Regions from separate parts of the Homo sapiens genome. Here region 1 is linked to region 2. The links are contacts of gene promoters, found by promoter capture Hi-C in human tissues and cell types (Jung and others, 2019). All regions are on one chromosome and are shown on one strand. The core of a region is centred on a gene start or on the middle of the fragment in contact, and the rest is flanking DNA. Distances in the headings are between cores, read along the strand shown. Region 1 has its middle 24 kb from the start of KLHDC4. Region 2 holds the start of CA5A (carbonic anhydrase 5A).

The links. The method cuts DNA at HindIII sites, captures the fragments that hold promoters and counts their contacts. A contact is called where the count stands out against the background at its distance.
Region 1: a fragment that was not itself captured here is called in contact with the fragment with the promoter of CA5A in region 2 in 3 of the 25 tissues and cell types used here (dorsolateral prefrontal cortex, lymphoblastoid cells and spleen).

Annotation. Positions count from the first base shown.
Region 1 is chr16:87,787,148-87,793,726 of GRCh38, reverse strand. No RefSeq gene overlaps it. Among named protein-coding and RNA genes, the nearest start is that of KLHDC4, 24 kb to the right of the region's middle. RefSeq lists enhancers at 2,578-3,777, 3,595-4,096. The HindIII fragment of the contact is 6,509 bases long and covers 931-6,579 here.
Region 2 is chr16:87,934,344-87,940,905 of GRCh38, reverse strand. It overlaps CA5A (carbonic anhydrase 5A), which reads left to right and starts at 4,377. Exons shown (of 7, transcript NM_001739.2): 1 at 4,377-4,597. The coding sequence starts at 4,456. The HindIII fragment of the contact is 20,256 bases long and covers 1-6,562 here.

The DNA of each region.
Region 1 (6,579 bases), core at 2,936-5,435, 150 kb after region 2:
AGCTTCCCAAATAGCTGGGATTACAGGCATCTACCACCGTACCTGGCTAATTTTGTATTTTTAGTAGAGACGGGGTTTCTCCATGTTGGTCAGGTTGGTCTCGAACTCTCGACCCCAGGTGATCCACCTCCCAAAGTGCTGGGATTACAGGCGTGAGCCACCGCGCCCAGCCCAGAGTTAGTATTAGAAATATAAACGTCACATAAAACATAGAAGCCTTGTGACCATATTTACCCAACCCCCCATGCTTCATGCTGCTGTTGTCTTGCATATTGCACCTACATACATTACAAACCCCAGGGTGATGTGGTAATTTTGGCTTTATACAGTCCTATGTATTTTCAATAAATTAAAAAAGGAAAAGTTATGCTGGGCATGGTGCCTCACCTCTGTACTTTGGGAAGCCGAGGTGGGTGGATTGCTTGAGCTCAGCCCAAGACCAGTGTAGGCACCATGGTAAAACCTCATCTCTACCAAATATACACAAAAGTTAACTGGGGCAGGTGACATGGCTCACGCCTGTCATCCCAGCACTTTGGGAGGCTGAGGCGGGTGGATTGCTTGAGCTCAGGAGTTCAAGACCAGCCTGGGCAACATAGCAAGACCCCCATCTCAATTAAATAAATAAATACATAAATAATAATAAAATCAGCTGTGCACGGTGGCATGTGTCTGTGGCCTGAGCTACTCAGGAGGCTGAGGTGGGAGGATCACCTGAGCCCGGGAGGCAGAGGTTTCAGTGAGCCAAGATTGCACCGCTGCACTCCAGCCTGGCCTTGTGGCTGCATCTCAAAAAAAAAAAGCCAGACCCTGTCCTAAAAAAAAAAAAAAAAAAAAGTAAAAAGAAAACGTTTGGCCGGGCGTGGTGGCTCACGCCCGTAATCCCAGCATTGGGAGGCCTAGGCAGGCGGATCACCCGAAGTCTGGAGTTTGAGACCAGCCTGCCCAACATGGTGAAACCCTGTCTCTACTAAAAATACAAAAATTAGCCGGGCGTGATGGCACGCACCTGTAATCCCAGCTACTCAGGAGGCTGAGGCAGGAGAATCACTTGAACCCAGGAGGCAGAGGTTGCAGTGAGCTGAGATCGTGTCACTGTACTCCAGCCTGGGCGACAGAGTGAGACTCCATCTGAAAAAAAAAAAAAAAGAAAAGAGAATGTTTTAATATTGATTGGGGTAATAGCTGCATAACTCTGTCATTGTACTAACGGCCACTGAATTGCGCACTCTAAATGGGCAAATCGTACGGTAGGTGGGTTATATCTTAACTGATCTATTCCTTGAAAAATAGCTCGTTGTGCTCGTCCTCTTGGTTAGCCTGGAAATGTTCTGAGAGCAAGCTGCCAATCCGTGTCAGGTACCACAGTGCTGACTGCAGAGCTGAGCCCAAGACCAGCTGCTTGGTAAATAGTCCTTGGTTGACTGATTGAGCAGAGGCCTCCCCAAAAAGGTTTTAATTGGTTTCATGTTTAAATTTTGCAATGAGGAATAAAAATCTGCCTCAGATGAGAATTTGGTTCTTCTCCTGTCCCTTCCTATACACAAGACTCCATAGAAACTGAGCAAAGCACCGAAATTTGTGTTCACCGGATCCCCAGAACATAACCGGATTTGGAATCAGGGTCTTTGCATGTGCCATTAGTTAAGATGAGGTCGTGCTGGATTAGGGTGGGTCCTAAATGCGATGACAGGTATCTTTATAAGAAGGCCATGTGAGGACATGCACTGAGGCCACGTGAAGGCAGAGGCAGAGACTGGAGTGACAGACACGCCACAAGCCCAGGAAGCCAGCCGCCCCCAGAAGCTGGAAGAGGTGGAAAGGACCCTCCTCTTTGGCCTCCAGAGGGAGCAAATCCCCCCCCCCCCCGCCCACCCCGTGTGAAGGGGCCTGGCCTCTCTGACCTCCTGGCCTCTCTGACCTCCCGGCCTCTCTGACTTCCCGCCTTTCCCCCCATGTCAACACGGGGGGTCGCTCCCTCCTGGGTCCGTCACATGCGGGAGCCCTGTCCTCCCTGTTGGGTTGCCCTGCTTAACTTATTCATCGGGATCCCAAACCATCTTGTGTATTTGTTTACTTGTCATGAGCTCCAGGAGAGCAGAGGCCTCTGGGTGCCTGGACTGGTCTGGCGCCGGGCGGGCCTCCGCAGGTGCTTGCGAGATGAGAGGCTCCCCAGAGGCTGGTGGGTTGAGGCGGCTCGCTGTCCGTCTCCCGGCGTGGGTTTGTTGCCCAGTGCTGACCAGTCACTCAGACACACAAAGAGCTCTTGGCCTGGGCCAGGGGAACAGAGGGCACTGTGTGCTGTGCCGATGCCGGCGTCTCTAGCCTCTGAATGCTGTCTGTGCACTTCAACAGATGAAGTTCTTTCCAACTGAAATGAAACCGCACAGTGAAACGGGGAGTTGTGCCCAGCTCCCTGGCTGGATCTTCTCCACCCGTGGTCTGGAAGTCTTGTTTATTTTATTTTTTATTTATTGAGTTGGTGTCTCACTCTGTCGCCGAGGCTGGAGTGCAGTGGGGCGATCTTGGCTCACCGTAGCCTCCGCCTCTTGGGTTCAAACTATTCTCCTGCTTCAGCCTCCCGAGTAGCTGGGTCTACAGAGTGGCATGCCACCACGAGCGGCTAATTTTTTGTATTTTTTTTTAGTAGAGATGGGGTTTCACTGTGTTAGCCAGGATGGTCTCGATCTCCTGGCCTTGTGATCCACTCCCAAAGTGCTGGGATCACAGGCATGAGCCACCGCGCCCAGCCAGAAGTCTTGTTTATTTAACCCACCACTAACAAATCAGAGTGTGGCCTTGGCTGTTGATAGCAGAGAATAATATTTATTGGCTTGGTGCCATTGCTTGGGCAAGCTTTCTAACCATAGTGGGTAAATGATGCCCTGTGTCTTGGCAGTCAGGCCTGGGCTGCTCCTCTCTGGGAGGGGGAGCCCCAGGGAGCTGGGAAGGCGATGATACTGAGACAAATGGGAGAGCTGCCTGGGAGGGCCGGGCAGAGCCAGTTCCCTTGCACATTTGCCACACCAGACCCATGTCTGTAGGGAGCGCCCCAGGGCTCTGGTGGGTTGTTAATTACAGCAAACGTACATTATCTCTGGATAATTCGAGCACGGGATTCTTTTGCCTAGGGCTGAAAAGATGTGTCTGCTAGCCAAGTAGGGGGAAAGCCCGTGAAGCCAGTCTTCTCTGCGTAATAAAGATAGAAAACTTAATGCAAACCTAATTCGCAGAGAGAATCCCACCAGAGACCGTGAAGACCCCAAAGAGCAGCTTGAAGAGGCCAAAAGCTAATGGCCAAAGAGAAGCAGTGGGTTTGGGTTTTCTTTGTACAGGGAGAGGACCTCAGGTGTCCAGCGGGGTGCTGCAGAGGAGAGGCCTTGGGGGAAGGTTATTACAGGAGCCCCGCCTCAAGACGACTCACGGCAGACAGGGGAGCCATGTTTTGAACAATGCACTTGGCATCCTTGTTAAACCACTCTAGCACGCAGTCTACACTGGACTGACTCCTGACTCTCCCGTGACTCAGCGGCCCTGCAAGTCAGCTCGTGCCTTGCGTGCACAGAGCAGGTTCCTCCACCCCGTGACCCAGGACAATGACCTGGCAAGCTCGCGGGCATGGCCTGGCCCCCTTCCCTGCCCTTGTGCGTTAGAACCCTCAGGGTCCTATGTGTTAATTCCCAAGGAATGAAACAGCTGGAAGGACCCAAGAATTGCTGGGATCTCATTCCCATGGCTTACTGACTTCCCAGACCTGATGGAACAAGCCTGAGGAGCTCGCTCGGCTTTCCTGGTGGTCTTTCGTGCCTCCTGCCATTTTTCCATCTTTTGCAAAAGGCTGCAGGCAGCACCCACACAGCCCTGCATGAGGCTTGGGTCAGAAGTAAGGGAAACTGCCAAATGCAGCCTTCTGGGTCATTTCAATAACACATACCTCCTCAAGCAATGAACGTCAGCCACGTCCAACATTGCACTTAGGTCCAAAGATTAACCAGCCATTTCTTAATAGAACAAACAAGCATGTTTGGCTTTGCCTGGTGGAACTGCAGCCTCCGGGCGACTGGGCAAAATCCACGAAGAACTGAAGTAAGCCCTGGAGAAGCCTTCCACTCAGCTGGGGAAGGCCAGGAGCTGTCAGGGGGTCCGAGCTGTTTGCTGTGGTGTACGGGAGGAGAGTGTAGAGTCTCGAGAACACCCAAAGCAGCCAGGCTCCAGGGCTCATTTCTGTAATCCCAGTGCTTTGGGAGGCCAAGGCAGGTGGATTACCTGAGGTCAGGAATTCAAGACCAGCCTGACCAACATGGCGAAACCCTGTCTCTACTAAAAATACAAAATTAGCCAGGTGTGGTGGCTCACGCCTGTAATCCCAGCTACTCAGGAAGCTGAGGCAGGAGAATCGCTTGAACCCGAGAGGCGGAGGTTGCAGTGAGGTGAGATCAAGCCACTGGACTCCAGCCTGGGCAACAGAGTGAGACCCTGTCTCAAAAAAAAAAAAAAAAAAAAAAAAAAGGAAAAGAAAAAAAAATTGGTGTTGAATCTGTAGGTCAGTTTGAGGAGAACTGACATCTTTCTAATATTTAGTCTTGTCTCAGTTACTAAAAGAGCCCTGCCATTATTTTTTGGTCTCCTTACATTTCTCTCAACAATATTTTGTAGTTTTCAGTGTAGAGGTCTTGCAAATTCTTTGTTTGATTTATTCTTCGTTTGTTTGTTTTGGTTTTGGTTTTGTTTGAATTGAAGTCTCATTCTGTCACCCATGCTGGAGTGCAGTGGCGTGATCTTGGCTCACTGACACCTCCACCTCCCAGGCTCTAGCGATTCTGGTGCCTCAGCCTCCCGAGTATCTGGGATTACAGGTGCATGCTAACATGCCCGGCTAATTTTTGTATTTTTAGTCAAGACAGGGATTCACCATGTTGGGCAGGCTGGTCTCAAACTCCTAACCTCAAGTGATCCACCTGCCTTGGCTTCCCAAAGTGCTGGGATTGCAGGTGTGAGCCACTGCACCTGGCCTGTTTGATTTATTCTTAAGTATCTGATGTTTTTTATAAATGGTGACTTTATAAATGGTAACTTTTAAGATTTTAGCTTTGTTTTGTTTGCTGCTGATATATAGAAAAACAACTAGTTTTTGTATGTTGATCTTGTATCCAGCAACCTAGATAAATTTACTTATGGATTCTAATAGATTATCCGTACATTCTTTAAATTTTCTACATTTTCTAAACCTTAAACCTTTTATTTCTTTTTCCTGCCTTTTGTGCTAAGCCTTCTGGTACAATGTTAAATAGACATGCTGAGAGAGAACATTGCAGCTTCACCTTCTATTTCTTTCTTTTTAATTTTTTTTTTGAGACAGGATCTCACTCTGTCACCCAGGCTGGAGTGGTTACCACTCACTGCAGCCTTGATCTCCCTGGCTCAAGAGATCCTCCTATGTCAGCCTTCAGAGTAGCTGGGGCTACAGGTGTGTGCTAGCATGCCCAGCTAATTTTTGGATTTTTTGAAGAGACAGGGTTTCACCATGTTGTCCAGGCTGGTCTGAAACTCCTGTGCTCAACTGATCCACCTGCCTCGGCCTCCCGAAGTGTTGGGATTACAGGTGTGAGCCACCACACATGGCCTACCTTCTATTTCTTACCCCTTTCCCTTATCAGCAATCTTATGAAGATCTGGGAAGATGGCAGTGGCAGCATAGTTTTTGAACATTCCAAATCCCCACAAAAAAGCAGAGAGCATGACAACATAGCAAAACAAAAAGTCCAGGGATTCTTTCATGAGTGTTCAGTGAAGTTTTCCAGAGGCCATATGACATGATGCAGCCAGGAGATAGAATGCAGAACCAGATATAAACTCTGGGCCACTGGCCTGGCATGGTGGCTCACACCTGTCATCCCAGCACTTTGGGATGCCAAGGCAGGTGGGTCACCTGAAGTCAGGAGTTTGAGACCAGCCTGGCCAACATGGTGAAAACCTGTCTCTACTGAAAATACAGGCCAGGCGTGATTGCTCACACCTGTCATCCCAGCACTTTGAGAGGCCAAGGCGAGTGGATCACTTCAGGTCAGGAGTTCAAGACCAGCCTGGCCAACATGGTGAAACCCTGTCTCTACTAAAAATGCAAAAATTAGCTGGGCATGGTGGCACATGCCTGTAATCCCTGCTACTCCAGAGGCTGAGGCAGGAGAATTGCATGAACCCAGGAGGTGAAGGTTGCAGTGAGCTGAGATTGTGCCACTGCACTGCAGCCTGGGTGACAGAATAAGACTCTATCCCAAAACAGAAAACAAAATCTGGGCCAGGCTCAGTGGCTCATGCTTATAATCCCAGATCTTCTGGAGGCCGAGGAAGGCAGATTTATTGAGCCCAGGAGTTTGAGACCAGCTTGGGCAACACGGTGAAACTCCATCTCTACAAAAAAAATACAAAAATTAGCCAGGTGTGGTGGTGCACACCTATAGTCCCAGCCACTTGGGAGGCTGAGGTGGGAGAATTACCTGAGCCAGGCAAGTTAAGGCTGTGGTGAGCCATGATCACGCCACTGCACTGCAGCCTGGGTGACAGAGTGAGACCCTGTCT
Region 2 (6,562 bases), core at 3,128-5,627:
GAGGCGGAGCTTGCAGTGAGCCGGGATAGCGCCACTGCAGTCCAGCTTGGGCGAAAGAGTGAGACTCCGTCTCAAAAAAAAAAAAAAAAAAAAAAAAAAAAAGATATTTATTATTTAGGTGCACCGGCCCAGTCGGATTAACATCCAAAGGACTGAGCCCTGAACAAAGAGCTTAAGTTACCTTTTAAGCATTTCGTGGGGTGGAGGGAGATCTGTGTAGGGGGAAGCACGTTGCAGAAGCGAGAAACAAAGACAGTTATTCAATTAATTGAGACATGCGTTACATCATTTCTTACTTTTCAAGGAAAAACATGCGTTGCGACTTGAGTTTATCTGTTTATGACCTTGCAGCTGCACGGCTAGAGAAACAGGGTCTTCGCAATGCCTGGGAAAGGGAGAGAGAAGGCTCACTAGCCACAGAAAAACAGGCAGTTAATTTTAAAGGACTTCAGCACTTTCTCTTTCTCAGGGGGAATTGGGTTTTCTTACATACAACTGAGTTTCTGCTTACATATTCTTTAATTTGTTTTAATTCCTGTTCCACCTGGATGTGGGTGGCACCATCCAATCTGCTGGGACCCAGAGAGAACAAAAACAGAGAAAAGGTGAATGTGTCTGTCCATCTGCCGGACTGGGGCGTGCGCTTCCTCTCCTTCCCTTGGACAACGCCCAGCTCCCCGGCCATGGGACTCCAGGACTTACACCAATGCCACCCTCTGCCCCAGGGTTCTCAGGCCTTTGGCCTTGGACTGAGAGTTACACCCTCAGCTTCCCTGGTTCTGAGGCCTTCGGACTTGGACTGAGCCATGCTACCAGCACCCCAGGGTCTCCAGCTTGCAGTGGCCTGTCCTGGAACTTCTCAGCCTCCATAGTCATATGGGCCAATTCCCCTAATTAATGTCCTCTCATTCATCTATCTATCTATCTATCTATCTATCTATCGATCTACCTATCATTTATCTCTTTATTTCTATCTATCACCTACCTGAGGCGGGAGAATAGGGAATGAGGGTAACCCAGGTTTAAGGCAGAAGCAAAAGAGCAGCAGGAGCAGCCGGTTCCAGGCAAGATTGGGCGGCACACGGGCCACAGTCTCACTACTGCGGTAACAGAACAGAAGCCTCCACTTCTGCCTCTGATTGGTCAGGGGCCAATCCTTCATAGGATGTAACCAATTGGAGCCCTCTAAAGGGCACCTGGGGGTGTTACCAAATTCTTTTAGCTTAATAAAAACCCTGAAGAACATGGTAATCAGGGTTCTTGAGCCACTTGCTTGTTCTTTTCTTGCTTTGTTTGTGTGTTTTGCTCAATTCTTTAACACACCAAGAACCTGGACAACTCGAAGTTAAGACTTTCCATCTGGTAACATGTCTACCTGTCATCTATCATCTAGCTCTCATCTACCTACCATCTATCTACCTACCAATCATCTTTCTTCATCTATCCATTATCTACCATCTATCTACCTATCTATCTACCTATCTATTGTCTGTCATCTGTCTACCTATCTAGCTATCATCTCTCTCTAATCTATCATCTATCTATCTATCTATCATCTCTTTCTCTCTCTCTTTCTCTAATCTATCTATCTGTTTGTCTATCCCATTGGTTCTGTCTCTCTGGAGAACCCTGATTAATACACTGGGGCTGGTGATATTTTGTAAGTAAAGCAGAGTCCTGCCATGGGGCAGCAGGGAGATGAGGAAGACAGGGAGACCCCCAGCCCACGGGTACTGCTGCAACGCAGTCAACCTAAACTGGGCAGGCTGAAGAGGGCAGGACGGCTGAGGATGGCAGAGGACATGCCCCAGGAGCCTGTGGGGCATCATCGGCTGCCCAGGTGAGTGTACTCAGGAGATGCCCCTGCTCACATGGGGCTGGCAATGCCTGGGGTGGGAGCTTGGCCTGCAGCAATGAAAGTGCCGCTCTAAGGACATCACTTGTGTCAACAACAGCTCGACAGAGTGTTATCGTGTATGATGGAATCCTAGAATCTTCCCTACTTTACAGATGAGGAAATGGAGGCAAAAGCCAATGAATTAATGAGTGAATGAATGAATGAGTGAATGAGTGAATGAATGAGTGAATGAGTGAATGAGTGAGTGAATGAATAAGTGAGTGAATGAGTGAGTGAATGAATGAATGAATGAGTGAATGAATGATTGACTGAGTGAGAGAATGAATGAGTGAGTGAATGAATGAGTGAGTGAGTGAATGAGTGAGTGAGTCAATGAGTGAGTGAGTGAGTCAATGAATGAGTGAGTGGGTCAATGAATGAATGACAATGAATCAGACTTCCCAAGAGTGGGTGCATTTCCACCATGACTGTGTGGGAAGGAGAGAACATATCATCCAGACTTGGTTTTTGTTGCTCAAAACAAATGCAAGCAAACTCTTGGGCCCACCAGAGCAGTGGCCGAAAGCCGCAGACCCTATCCATTGTGTGGGGGATTTCAGTGGGATTCTTGGGCTTTCAGGAGCCTACAAGTGGACTCGCATTTCAACACCTGTGTTCTGTAGGGTTTTCTAGATCTAAGATTCCAGGATTCTATGAAAAGTTATGATAGCCCTGCCCCCTAAAAGATTGTAAGTTTAAACAACAACAAGAAGTCACAAACTGGTGCATCCCAATCCCATGGGTTCCATTTCACAGGTAAAAGGTGTCTGGGTGAATAAACTGCTGTGCCGCTCAAAGGACCCAAAGGAAGGTTCTTTGTGGGTTGGCGTCTGCAAATATCACCAGCTGCCTGGCTAGAGTGACCAGCTAACATACCCATGTGGACCCTGGGCATGAAGGGAGGTACCAGGCCAGGGGCAGTGGCTCATGCCTGTAATCCGAGCACTTTGGGAGGCCACTCTGGGAGGATTGCTTGAGCCCAGGAGTTCAAGACCAGCCTGGGCAACATGGCGAGAACCTGCCTCTACAAATAATTTTTAAAATTAGCTGGACATAATGGCATGCACCTATAGTCCCAGCTACTTGGGAGGCTGAGGAGGGAGGATCACTTGAGCCTGGGTGATTGAGACTGCAGTGAGCCATGATGGCACCACCGCACTCCACCTTGGGTGACAGAGCAAGACCTCACCTCAAAAAAAAAAAAAAAAAGAAAGAAAGAAAGAAAGAAAGAAAGAAAGAAAAGAAAAGAGGCTGGACGCAGTGGCTCATGCCTGTAATCCTAGCACTTTAGGAGGCCGAGGTGGGTGGATTGCCTGAGCTCAGGAGTTCGAGACCAGCTTGGGGAACACAGTGAAACCCCGTCTCTACTAAAAATACAAAAAATTGGCCGTTGTGGTGGTGTGTGCCTATAATCCCAGCTACTCAGGAGGCTGAGACAGGAGAATTGCTTAAACCTGGGAGGCAAAGGTTGCAGTGAGGCAGGATCACGCCATTGCACTCCAGCCTGGGCAACAGAGCGAGACTCCATCTCAAAAAAAGAAAGAAAGAAAAGAAAAGAAACGAAGAAAAGAGGCTGGGCGTAGTGGCTCACACTTGTAATCCCAGCACTTTGGGAGGCCGAGGCAGGCAGATCACCTGAGGTCAGGAGTTCAACACCAGCCTGGCCAACGTGGTGAAACCCCATCTCTACTAAAAATACAAAAAATTAGCTGGGCATGGTGGTGGGCGCCTGTAATCCCAGCTACTCAGGAGGCTGAGGCAGGAGAATTGCTTGAACCTGGGAGGCAGAGGTAGCAGTGAGCCGAGATCACGCCATTGCACTCTAGCCTGGGCAACAGAAGTGAAACTCTGTCTAAAAAAAAAAAGAAAAGGAAAGAAAGAAAGGTGGCCCTGTTAATGTTTATGCCAAGACAGCAGGCATGACCTGGAAGTGTCCGAAGCCACAGGGCATCTTGCTTCCGGGGAGGATGAATGAATCAAATCGCACCTATTTTAAGGCAAGCAAGGACTCCATGACTTCAGGAGCCCTGGTGGGTGGACAGAAGCTCCCTGCTCCCCTGGCCTGTCTACCCAGCAGCGCTTTGGCCAGTCCCATTCCTGTACTTCTGAGCCTGCCTGCCAGTCCCTCCTCACATGCACACCATGGCTTTGTGCCTGGTATTGAGTGTCCCGGAGCCCCAAACCACACGGTCAACCCCATGAAAGAAACAGGGACTCTGCTCTCATCCACTCGCCCCCGCCTCCCGCGTAATCCCCTGGTGCTCACGCAGCCCCACCGTACAGTTTTTCTAGCTCCCTGGCAGACTTGTGCTCCTGTTTGCCAGATCAAAGCCCAGTGACCTGAGTGGCCTGTCCCCAGCAGAGGCCACTAATCCCTGTGGACCCACCCTGTTGGGAAAGGCATGGGTTGAACTTTAACCATTAGGCTCAGGGGTTGGGATGAGTTTCTACAAAAAGAGGTGGGTACACGCCAGTCCACAGTGGTCCTGATCAAAGTGAGAACAGACAGCAGGGAACATCACCCTCTTCAGACTGGAGTCAGTGGGAACAGACCCAAGATGTTGGGGAGGAACACTTGGAAGACCTCAGCTTTCTCCTTCTTGGTTGAGCAGATGTGGGCCCCTCTCTGGAGTCGTTCGATGAGGCCAGGGCGATGGTGTTCTCAGCGTTCCTGTGCATGGCAAACCAGCAATAACACTTGTAAGTAGAGCCTCAAATTTCCTAAGATGCGACTGGATCCTTGTCTTAGCTGATGGGGTCTTTCGAGAGGAGAGAGGAGAGACCGTCCCGAGCCAGATGGGTTCAGATTTCCACTCCGTTTTTTTTTTTTTTTTTTTAAGATGGCGTCTCGCTCTGTGGCCCAGGCTGGAGTACAGTGGCGTGATCTCAGCTCACCACAACCTCCACTTCCCGGGTTCAAGCGATTCTCCTGCCTCAGCTTCCTGAGTAGCTGGGACTATAGGTGCATGCCACCACTCCTGGCTAATTTTTCGTATTTTTAGTAGAGACAGGGTTTCACTGTGTTAGCCAGGTTGGTCTCGAACTCCTAACCTCGCGATCCGCCTGTCTCAGCCTCCCAAAGTGCTGGGATTGCAGGCATCAGCCACGGCGCCCGGCCCTCTTTTTTCTTTTTTTGATGAAGTTTTGCTCTTTTGCCCAGGCTAGAGTGCAATGGCATGATCTCGGCTCACTGCAACCTCTGCCCTCCAGGTTCAAGTGATTCTCCTGCCTCAGCCTCCAAAGTAACTGGGACTACAGGCACCCGCCACTGCACCCAGCTAATTTTTTGTATTTTGGTAGAGATGGGGTTTCACCATGTTGGCCAGGCTGGTCTCGAACTCCTGACCTCAGGTGATCCACCCACCTTGGCCTCCCAAAGTGCTAGGATTACAGGCGTGAGCCACCGCGCCTGGCCACACTCCGTTTCTCTTGTATTTGGTGACCTTGGGTGAATCATTTAGCCTCCGTTTCAGGGGTCCTGGGGAGGGCAAGATGCTGGGAGCAGGCGGGTAGTCCGTGTTCGCACGGGACACACTGGCACGACTCACCATCCAGACCCGGCGGAATGGGCTGCACTAACCAGTCACGATCGCTCCTAAACTCTTCGGCAGAGAACGCTTTCAAGCAAACCTGTAACAAATAAACCACTCAGCCAGCTCTGCCAAGAAACTGCCCCGTGCCAGCCCCTCCTGGCTTCATGGTCAGTGCCTTGTGACCTTGAACGAGGCCCTTCCTCTTTCTGGGTCTCAGGTGCTTCCTCCGTAGAATGAGAGCCTGCTTTGGCAGCTGCCAAGTTCTCTTCTAACTGAAATCTTCCATGCATTCCATGTTTGGGCCATTGAAAGAGCATGGGCTTAGGAGCCAGACCCCAGGCATGCAGTCCGACTGACGCTTGCTGAGGTGGAGCCTCGGCAGGTCTTCACCCCCAAGCCTCTGTGTCCTTATCTCGAGATGGGGGTGGCCAGACTTTCTCTCCAGGGCCATGGAAGGATGACACGATGCGTGTAGAAAGCCTGGCCCACCCCAGACTCTGAGTGAGCTACACTCATTCCTCCTGTTGGGGTCCACACCTGTGGACTGGAGTGCAGTGGTGCGATCTCGGCTCACTGCAGCCTCTGCCTCCTGGGTTCAAGCGATCCTCTTGACTCAGCCTCCCAAGTAGCTGGGACTACAGGCGTGTGCCACCACGCCCAACTAATTTCTGTATTTTTAGTAGAGATAGGATTTCGCCATGTTGGCCAGGCTGGTCTCAAACTCCCGACCTCAGGTGGTCTACCTGCCTCGGCCTCCTAAAGTGCTGGGATTACAGGCGTGAGCCACTGCACCCACCCCCCTTTTTTATTCTTAGTACGACCGTCAAGAGCGCTAGCCTGCCTAGATTGGAATCTTGGCCCCACTGCTCTATGGCTGTTGCCCCTCTGTGACTTTCCTTTATTTTTTGAGACTAATTTCTGTCTTGTTGCCCAGGCTGGAGCGCAGTGGTGCGATCTCCAGCTCACCGCAACCCCCACCTCCCAGGTTCAAGCAATTCTCCTGCCTCAGCCTCCCGAGTAGCTGGAATTACAGGCATGCGCCACCACATCCGGCTAATTTTGTATTTTTAGTAGATACAGGGATTCTCCATGTTGCTCAGGGTGGTCTTGAACTCCCAGCCTCAGGTGATCT